Regions from separate parts of the Homo sapiens genome. Here region 1 is linked to region 2. Evidence: promoter capture Hi-C in 16 types of primary human blood cells and fetal thymus (Javierre and others, 2016). All regions are on one chromosome and are shown on one strand. The core of a region is centred on a gene start or on the middle of the fragment in contact, and the rest is flanking DNA. Distances in the headings are between cores, read along the strand shown.

Evidence for each region. The method cuts DNA at HindIII sites, captures the fragments that hold promoters and counts their contacts. A CHiCAGO score of 5 or more calls a contact.
Region 1: a contact is called between a fragment that was not itself captured here and the fragment with the promoter of SYT2 in region 2, in 1 of 17 cell types (M0 macrophages). The highest score is 5.5, in M0 macrophages.

What each region holds. Positions count from the first base shown.
Region 1 is chr1:202,209,006-202,213,918 of GRCh38, reverse strand. The region is part of intron 1 of LGR6 (leucine rich repeat containing G protein-coupled receptor 6); the gene reads right to left. Among named protein-coding and RNA genes, the nearest start is that of LGR6, 18 kb to the right of the region's middle. RefSeq lists an enhancer at 1-259. The HindIII fragment of the contact is 856 bases long and covers 3,224-4,079 here.
Region 2 is chr1:202,707,523-202,712,283 of GRCh38, reverse strand. It overlaps SYT2 (synaptotagmin 2), which reads left to right and starts at 1,830. Exons shown (of 9, transcript NM_177402.5): 1 at 1,830-2,026. The HindIII fragment of the contact is 4,026 bases long and covers 1-2,463 here.

The DNA of each region.
Region 1 (4,913 bases), core at 2,402-4,901, 500 kb after region 2:
CTCACTCCCTCATGCTGCAGTTGGACTGAATAGAGTTCTCTGCCTGCCCTTATAATGTAATCCTCAGTGGCTCTGGGGTCAGACTGCCAGAGTTTGTATCTTGGCCCTAACACTTAGCAGTTGTTTGATATTGGACTAGTTCCTTTCCTCTCTGTGCCTCAGTTTCTGCATCTATAAAATAGTATCTAATATTCCCCATAAGATAATGTTGTGAGGTTTAAATGGGAGAACCCATGGGTGTAGCATGAATGTCAGTGGACATCCCTCTCCTCACCTGCATGTAACCAACAGAGCCCCTCCTGGTGGAGAAGCAGGGCTATAAAGTTAGGAAAGATAGGCTGGGGAGGCTGTGGGTAGAGGAGGGCGTTCTGGGTCAGCCCTGCCCTTAGGAGGCAGCAGCTGCCGCTTCTCTCTGGTGCCTCCAAGTGAGTGCCACCTGCCTCGCCCCTGATCTTCTCATCCTTTGATCTTCTGATCTCTGGCCAGGGTCTCCCAGCCAAAGGCATTCCTGTCTCCCTTGCCTTCTCCAAGGAAAGGCAAAGGGCTGGACTCCCTCCCTTTGCCCCAAGCTCCTTCCTCCCTCCCCTGTGTTGTGTGTGTAACTAAGACTACCAGTCAGGCCCTGGGACGAAGTAACAGCCAGGACCCCTAAGGTGGCAGTGTCTAGGGGGAGAAGAGGACATGGGGAAGTGTTGGACATCGGGGCTGTTACTGGGCATGATGCCCTGGCTGGACCAGACACTGCTGGAAAGGTGACTTCAGCCCAAGTTCCTTATTGCCAGAACCAGTTTATGCAGAGCCCTGGATGAGCACTGGAGAAAGTGTGTGTGCCCCTGTGAACAGTGTGTGTTCCCTGCCCTCAGGAAACTTCGGTCTGAGGAGAGATTCAGACCCACAGATACTGCTGGACAGAGCCTTATACATTAGTGCTGGAGGAATCTCAAGTACCTGTGGGTCAGGGAGGGCTTCCTGGAGGAAGCTTGGCCTGAGCTGGCCAAGAGAGACATGATTTGCCATCAGAAAGTGGCCTGCCTCAGAGCTGTGCAAAGGGGGGAAATGAGCTGGGGGTGTTAGCATGGGAGTGAGGGAAAGTGTGGTGGATGAATGGTGGCCTCCCTAAAGGTGTGTCTACCTCATAATCCCTGGAACCTGTGAATATGATCTTACTTGAAAAAACGGCCTTTGCAGATGTAGCTAAGTAAGAGATCTTGAGATGAGGAGATCCTCCTGGATTATCTGAGTGGGCTCTAAATCCAATGTCAATTGCCCTTGTGTAGACACGCAGAGCTCACACACAGAGAAGAAGGTGAGGTGAAGACAGAGGCAGAGATTGGAGTGATGTGGTAACCACGAGAAGCTGGAAGAGGCACGCAGTGGGTTCTCCCCTAGAGCCATTGACAGGAATGTGGCCCTGCTGACATCTTGATATTGGGTTTCTGGCCTCCAGAACTGTGAAAGAATAAACTTCTGTTGTTTTAGGCCACCCAGTTTGCGGTACTTTGTCACGGCAGCCACTGGAAACTAACCCAGGTAAGCGGGGAACAATCAGCAGAGCCTCAGTGTGCTGCTGGTCCTCAAGCCCCTCTTCCCACTGTGGCTTCCTCCTGTCCTTCCCTCTGCTCGCCCTCCATCACTGGCCCAAGCCAGTGACCCATCCCACACTTCTCCACCTAGGAAAGTCATTCTCACCCCCTTGAGACTCCCTTGGATCTACTCTGATCCAGCAATTCCATTGCTGGGGACTTAACCAACAGACACACATCCATATGCTCACTAGACAACCGTACGAAACTGCTCATAGCGGTGGTAGCCATGATACTCCCAACTAGAACATGTCTGGTTGCCCATCGACAGTGGAATGCGTAAACTGGGTTGTATTCACCCATAGTAAGTACCATGCCACAATGAGGATGAACGAACTATGACCACCAGCAACAACATGGGTGAATCCTCAAACATGGTGAGGAAAAGAAGCCAGATGCAAAATAATGCCCCATTTATGATAAGGTTCAAAACACAGGCACAGCCTACCTATGTTGTTAGAAATCACGATCGTTGCTATCTTTGTGGGGGTGGGTAGTGACCAGCAGAGGGCATGGGGGTGGAGGGCTTCTGGAAAGCTGATGATGTTCTCTTTCTTGGTCCAGGTGCTGGTTACACAAGTGTATTTGCTTATGGAAATGTACCAAGCTATACACTTATGATATGTACGCTTTTCTATTATGTATATTATATTTAGTTTAAAAAAACAAACTCTGGGCCAGGCGCAGTGGCTCACGCCTGTAATCCCAGCACTTTGGGAGGCCAAGGCAGGCGGATCACTGGAGGCCAGGAGTTTGAGACCAGCCTGGCCAACATGGTGAAACCCCATCTCTACAAAAATATAAAAATTAGCCGGGTGTGGTGGCACATGCCTGTAATCCCAGCTACTTGGGAGGCTGAGTCAGGAGAATTGCTTGAACCTGGGGGGCTGGGAGGCAGAGGTTGCAGTGAACCAAGATCACACCACTGCACTCCAGCCTCGGTAACAGAGTGAGACTCTGTCTCAAAAAAACAAACTCTGAAAGTCTTCGTGAACCTCAGGCTTTCTGAGGGCTCCCCTCTAGGTTCCCATGGCATCTCATGAATAATTCTCAGTTTTTATGTCATTAAATGAAATTGGATGTTTATTTCTGTATATTGTTTCATCATACTCATCTGTGTATCCCCAGCACTTTCCCCAGGCTCTGGCACATAGTAGATGCTCAATAAACACTTGAGATTTGCTGGCATGGCCATGGGCTTTGGTGTTGCCAGGCTTCTCTCCCAGGGTTAACTGGCCATTGGCCCCAGTTCCCTGGATCTTCACAGGATTCCACAATGAGACACATTCCTTCCCACTGCTGCCCCATCCTACCCACCTTCTAAGTCCCCCCACAACCAGCCTATGCTTGTCTCCTGCCTCATGCTTAACGCACACAATGGTAATTTTCTGACCCAATTGTAATCTCTGTTAATGCAAAATTCAAGTCTTACTTATCTGGGATCTTCAGAGCCTAGGCAAGTGTCGGGCACACTGTGGAGATTCAAGAACCCACAGCCTCAAGTTGCTAGAGTCCTCTATCCAAGCCTAGGGGCAGGCACATACCTTTGTTCGTCCTAGCTTGTTTGGAATTGGATGGAAATTTTCAAAAGAAGTTTTCTTTAAAAAAAATCAAGAGAATGAATAGGAAAGGCAAAAGCTTCTAAGTGGAAGGGTTTATAGAACAGATGTCTCACTCTAATGAAACCCAAGCCTGGCCACGAGCTGACTGGCTGGCAGCTTAAGAGGCTCCCCAGTGCGGCTCCATCCTCACCGCAGCCGTCTGGGTTGGAAGCCACACCTCGGGCTCCTGCCTGTGGTGGAGCCAGGTTAGTGCTACTACCAGGTCTGAAGAGGGCTGCCCTCCCTCCCTCTCTCTCAAATAGGTCCATCTGCTCCAGCCTAGGGTTTTTGTTTTTTTTTTTTTTTCTGCTCTGTACCTCCCAGCCTCTGGCCAGTCATTTGTTCATTCATTCATTCACTCATTCATCTCTTTACTCATTCCACCAATATTTTTGAGCATCCATGTGCAGAGGGCTTGGGCCAGCACTGAGGATACCAGGAGAGCAATGGTGGCCAGGCCCCTGCTTTCTTGGGGGTCCCAGCCTGGTCTGAGAAACAGACAAGTAACCAGGAATCTGAACCCAAGGGAATGAGCCTTGCGGCAGGGCAGGCACACAGAGGGGAGGCCTCCCCCAGAGTTGAGGGATTAGGGAAGGTTTCCCAGAGGAAGAGACATCTCAGTCAGCCCCTTACATCCTAAATGAAGCTGATGCTTCCTTGCCTCTTCCAAATACCCCACCAGAGCAGCAGGCTTCTGGTCTGAACCCATTTCTTCACCACATCCTTGCAGTAAATCAACCGTGATGTCCATAGGGCTGTTTCTTATAGACCTGGATATAAACCAATGGTGCATCACCTAAGTACAAACTAGGTAAAAGCATTTCTGTAGGAGATGGAGTAGAGAGTGGCTGTCCAGCAGCTCCACTGATGATCTGACTTATTCCATGAATAAGCTTGAGGCAGTGCTTGGCAAACCCTAAAATGAAGATTCTGGCTCAGTAGGTCAGGGTTGAGGCCTGAGCTTCTGCATTCCTCACACACTCACAGATGATGCCGATGCTATGCTGCTGGGCTGTGAACCATACTTCGAGTGAAAGGCTTTAGGATATCCAAGGGAATCCATAGAATAAACCTCCTTTAAGCAATCTTTTATAAATATGTTTTAAATCACTTTTTTTAACTAAGTATTGACCAGGCTGACTCATAGAAATATGCCACTGTGGCCTGGTCTAGACAAAGGTGTCTGGCCAAGGGGCCAACCAGAGGACAAAATCTGCTCCTGCCCCACTCATCAACTCTGCCCGCTCCCCACGTGGTAGGGCCACTGGGGCAAGGGGCACCCTTTTCTATTTCTCACAAAGATGTTGCCTGGACTAGCTGCAGCCCAGAACACTGTGGGGCGGGCAGGCTGAGTGGATGTGTGGATTTCTGAGGAGGAGCAGGGAGAGGCCTCTGACCTCCTCAGCAGCAGGCAGCCCCTCCAGGATCCCTGGGGATGGCAGGTGTGGCGTCTCCAAGGTTGCCTTTATAGGCCAGGATCCCTTCCTCATGGAGAAAGTGAAATGAAACCCAGGTCACCCCACCATTGCCTATGGGGCTAACAAAGAAGGGGTTAGCTTTGGGCTCTCTCCCCTCTGGCCAAAATAGGAGGGAAACTTGGGGACACTATGATAGGAAGGAGGAGGGACTCTAGGAAGAACTTCCCAGTGATCACATTCCCAGGGGGTCAAACACTAAGCAAATGGTGGGGTGTAATGACTTGATCTGCCCATCTGGAGGTCCCAGCCGA
Region 2 (4,761 bases), core at 581-3,080:
GAGTCCTGCAGATACTGGTTGTTGGCATGGGGAGCAGGAAGGAATGAATAGAGTAGAGCCAGCCCCTTTGGGGAAGCAACAAGTCCTGGAACACACCTGGCTAAGGGTGGGGGTGGTGGGTAACCTCTTTGAATGTAAAGGTCTCATTAGTCCATTGTAACTTGGCTCCCCATTTCCTCCACTGCCCTTGTTCTGGCTGCTCCACAGGTGAAGGGGGAGGGCCTCTGTGCCTCAGGGGCTGTGAGCACAGCTTCAGCCTGATTGAGGACTCCCCAGAGGTCTTCCCCCACCTTTTTCGTAACATCCACTGAGTCGGCAGCCACTTGCCGCCTTGCTCTGAGGCAAGCCAAACTGGGGATAGTCTCCAACTGGGGATGGTCTGCCAGTAACACCTGGTATTATTGGCACAGTGATCTGAAAAGTGCCCTCCACTGCCTCTTCTCTCCCCAAAGCCTGAATCCCACTTGTTCTTTGCATCTCCTCATATTGCATTCATTCCACCTCTCACTCACTCACCTAGTACGTATTGAAGACTGACCTCAGGCCATGTACGGTTTTGTACCCAAAAGCGAGGCAGGATGCTACAGTCCTATTATAAAAGTTAACTCCAGGCCAAGCGCAGTGGCTCATGCTTGTAATCCCAGCACTTTGAGAGGCTGAAGTGGGTGGATCCCTTGAGGTCAGGAGTTCGAGACTAGCCTGGCCAACATGGCAAAACCCCATCTCTACTAAGAATACAAAAATTAGCCGGGTGTGGTGGCGCACGTCTGTAATCCCAGCTGCTCGGGAGGCTGAGGCGGGAGAATCCCTTCAACCCAGGAGGCAGAGGTGGCAGTGAGCCAAGATCGCGCCACTGCACACTGCACTGCAGGTTGGGTAACAGAGTGAGACTTGTCTAAAAAAAAAAGAAAAAAAAAAGTTAACTCCAAAAGAGTTAAAGCGGATATTCAAATTGTGCTGTAAGGAAGTTCTGGTGCTGCCCTGGCAGCTCCTGGGTAGGTTAGGAAGGGCTCTGTTTTGCCCTTGCCACCCTTCTCTTTCTCCCAGGCTCTTCCGAAATGCCACCACTTAACTGTCTGCAGCTCCTTGGTCCAACGCACCATTCAGGGACTGTTTCCCCACCTGCAAACTGCCCACGCAAAATGCCCACCTTAAAGGGATGTCTTACGTATTAAGCAAACTAACATGTGTGAACACCCTGTCTTTAATAACCAGTAGCGTCCTCCTTTTCTTTCTACCGTCTTCCAGCTCCTCTCTCCTTGTCACCCTGCAGTTCTTACTCTCCCCTCCGCTGTTCTATTTCCATAGGCCTCAGGCACCGCTGTCTTCTCTCAAGCATCCTCCTCTCTCTCACCCAACCTTTAGGCTCAGAAGCCCCCACCATCCAGGTGGCCAATATAGGTAGCGGTGACCTAAGCGGAGAGGGGAGGAGGGGAGGCTAGGGGCTCAGGGATCCCAAAATGGCCATGGGGATGGGGGCTCCTGAGCCCAATAATTTAGCCTTGAGCTGCAGTGGGTTCGGGAAGTTGGAGAGAAGGAGCTGGCTAGAAAGGAGACCAGCCTTCTGGGGTGGGGAGTATAGAGCTCCTTTCCAGTCCGCCTTCCTGCTGGGGAAGCAGCCTCCTTGACCTTGAGCAGGAGGCGGGGGCGCCGAGCGCCTGGGGGGCTGCGCAGAAAGAACCCGTCCCGGGGGGCAGGCCCGCCCTCCGCCTCCTCCGGGCCTCCTCCGCCTCGGTCCCCGCCCTCCCACGCCGCTTGGTCTCCTCCCCTCACTGCAGCGCTCGCCGCGCGCGCCCATCGATCAGGCCCCCTCCCTCTGCCGCCTCGGCGCAGACTGCTAAGCTCAGCAAGTCTTGCGGCAAAGGCACTTCGGAGCCGAGTTGGGGCAGCGGTGGAGCGGGGACTTCGCGCCCCCAGGGGAACGGGCGCCCCTGCGAAACCGTCGCCAGCCACGCGTCCTTGCCGTCCGACGCCCCCTCACATTGGAGACCCCGGATCTCTCCCGCCTCCTTCGGGTCGCTCTCCGGTAAGTCCATACCCCCGCCGGTGGGGGCACGGACCTCCCTCTCCAAAGTTTCTCCTTTCCTGCTACTGAGTCGAGGGGCCACGGGGTGGTCTGGGTCCCGAGAGGTGAGTAGGGTTGGGGAAGTTTGAGGCCAAGGGGGCCGGGAGTCTGCCCCGTCCTTTGGGGGAGTTTGGAAGCGTCCGGATGGAAGGTTCGTCTCGGGGAGTCGGACCCGAGGGGCGAGGAGCCGGCTCCTCTGAGGGACTGGGGCTGGGCTGGGGGCAGATTTCCTCCCGCGGGTTGCTGCAGAGAGGGGCGGGCCACGCGTCCCCTGCACCGGCCGGCTCTGCGCCCCCGTCCCTCTCTCCTTTCCCTGGGACGAACCCACTCGCGTCTAGCCCAGCCCCCGCCAGCCCTAGCGGTCTCCAAGGAAGGTTCTTTTGCCCCAGTCTCAAGCTTCGGGGACCCCTGGCACCGCCGTCGTGGGAAGTGGGGCGGGGGGTGGGGTCTGGGCGCTGGGAGCCGGAGACCCTGGGTCAGGGAGAGGTTGGGGAGACAGACTGCAGGGGCCATCTGGAAGCAACGGGCACGAGGAGCTGGGGCAGGGGCCCAAGAAGGGGCTGGAGGCGCCCCTCCCCTCTCTCCAAATCTCATGACTCAGCACGACCTAGGACGCCCCGTCCCTGCTTCAGCTCTGTCCCCAAGGGCTAGGCTCGCAGCCTGGCGGGTGCTGACAGCCCGACTCCCTTTTCTGGACTCTTCCATGTACCTTTCCCATTTGGGGTGCCCCCTTCCCCTGCCTATGCTCCTTCCCCCACCTCTGGGGCACAGGGCTTTTATTTTTCAACTAAAAAGTGGAGCTTTATCGTTTCACATCCCACTAAGCCAGGCCCCCTCATCCTGTCTCCTCCCTTTTCATCCCCACATTCCACAGGTGCCTCCAGGACACCCCCAGCCCATGGCTCGTGGGGTGTCTCCTGGCAGGGCAGTGTCCTCCCTTACCCCTGGCTGAGGTGGCAGAGTAGGTGCTCTCCCCGCAGCAGGAGAAGGGAGTGCAAGGACAGAAGAGGTGCTGGCCCAGGAGGGGCCACTGCAGTGGGGAGGGAAGGGCAGAGGCCCCGTGGGCAGGTAGTACAGGTTGAGTTAGCTTATAAGGAGGAGGAAGTCCTTAGGATCTGGGGGCGCCCAGGAAGCCAGAAAGGTGAACTGGGGTCTGACCTGGAAAGCAAAAGGGTGCCCTTCTCCCTCCCCTACTGCTGCCGCCCTGCGGGGCCTCTCCCAGGTGGAATAGATTGTCCTCCATCCAATCTGTCTGGATCCCCATAACCTGGCACTTCATTAGAGGGGGTGACAGAAGCAGGGAAGCCCTTAATCCTTTCAACCATCTCTCCCTACTTAAGACTAAGTCCAGCTTTGGGGCTGCTAGAAACATCTCTGTGACCAGCAGAGGTGCTGAAAAAAGCCATGCCCAGTGCCCCAAAGGCGGGCCCGAGTGGCAGGTGGAAGGGGGCAGGGTGGCTCTGATGCAGTGGGACGTGCCTGGCATCCTGGTCCTGTGGAATGAGAGTGGTGGTCTGGCAGGCACTGCAAGCTGCAGCGTGTGTCAGGGCCCTGGGGGTGAGTCAGCGTCAGGGGTCCACGCCAGGCACACTGCAGCCTAGGGAGTCCAACTCCAACCCATCTCCTCCCATGCCCCTGGAAAATGGCCAGTGCCCACTGAACCCCGACTGAACCACCTTTCCCTCAGGGTGGCTGCCTCTGCTCTGCTTGGCTGCCAGGCAGATCCCTGGCTTCACCCTCTAGGACTCCCCCCAGAGGCTTGGCTTTTTCTGGAGATCTTTTGGGCTTAATCCTTACCTTCTCCCCTCCTTGTCTTGCCAAAGGAGGAGGAGAGGGAGGCAGAGGAAAGTTTCTAGGTTATAGCCTCACATAGACCTGGCCCACCATTCCCTGGAGGAAGAGAGACCAGACCACTCTGCTGGGAGTCTGCTTTGTTCTGCAGTCCAGGAGCTTGGTCCAGGGAACTTGGGTTTTCTTTTGGGGGAAGGGGGTGATTATGCAGGAACATTTCTTTTTCAGCTTTGGGGTCTGACATCCGCAGAACAGGACCAGGGGAAGCAAAAAGTGTTGGTGTTCGTAAACATTGACTTTTCACCTAGAGAAGCTTGCAACTGGCTTCAATTTAGGACTGAAGCTGGTTTCACCTGGGCAAAGCATGTACCTTGCTGAAGACCTCGCAGGGCCGAGGAGACCCTTTCTGGAGCTGGGTCTGGGCTCACCTGCCCTCACATTGCAGCTGGAGCTCGTTTTATTCCTTCTACCCTTAGGCAGCTTCCAGGCAGGTGTGACAGGGCTGTCTATGATACTGCAGAGACCTGGGGGTGGGCTTTGGAGGTGGCTGGAGAAGCCTCTTCCTTGCCCTTCTCAAGCCCTGGGGACCAGGCTACCCCAGTGTTCCCCAGCCCCTAGGCAAGCCTGACCTCTAGTCATTCTTTCTGCCTCCATCTGAACATTATCATATCTCAATGGGGTCTCCTTTTTCTTCCCCGCCAGGCCTGTGCCGCCCTCTCAGGGGAGAGTAGATAGAGGGGCAGTGAGTGCACTGGAAGCAGGGGGACAGAAGGCAGTGAGGACAGAGTGGGAGGAGGTTGGGCTTCATTTGCCTGGAAGAATGACCATCATTCCCTTCCCTGGACAGAAGCATCCTCGTGGAGGACTTAAGGCTGCAGATGAGTAGAAACACTACTTCACTTGGC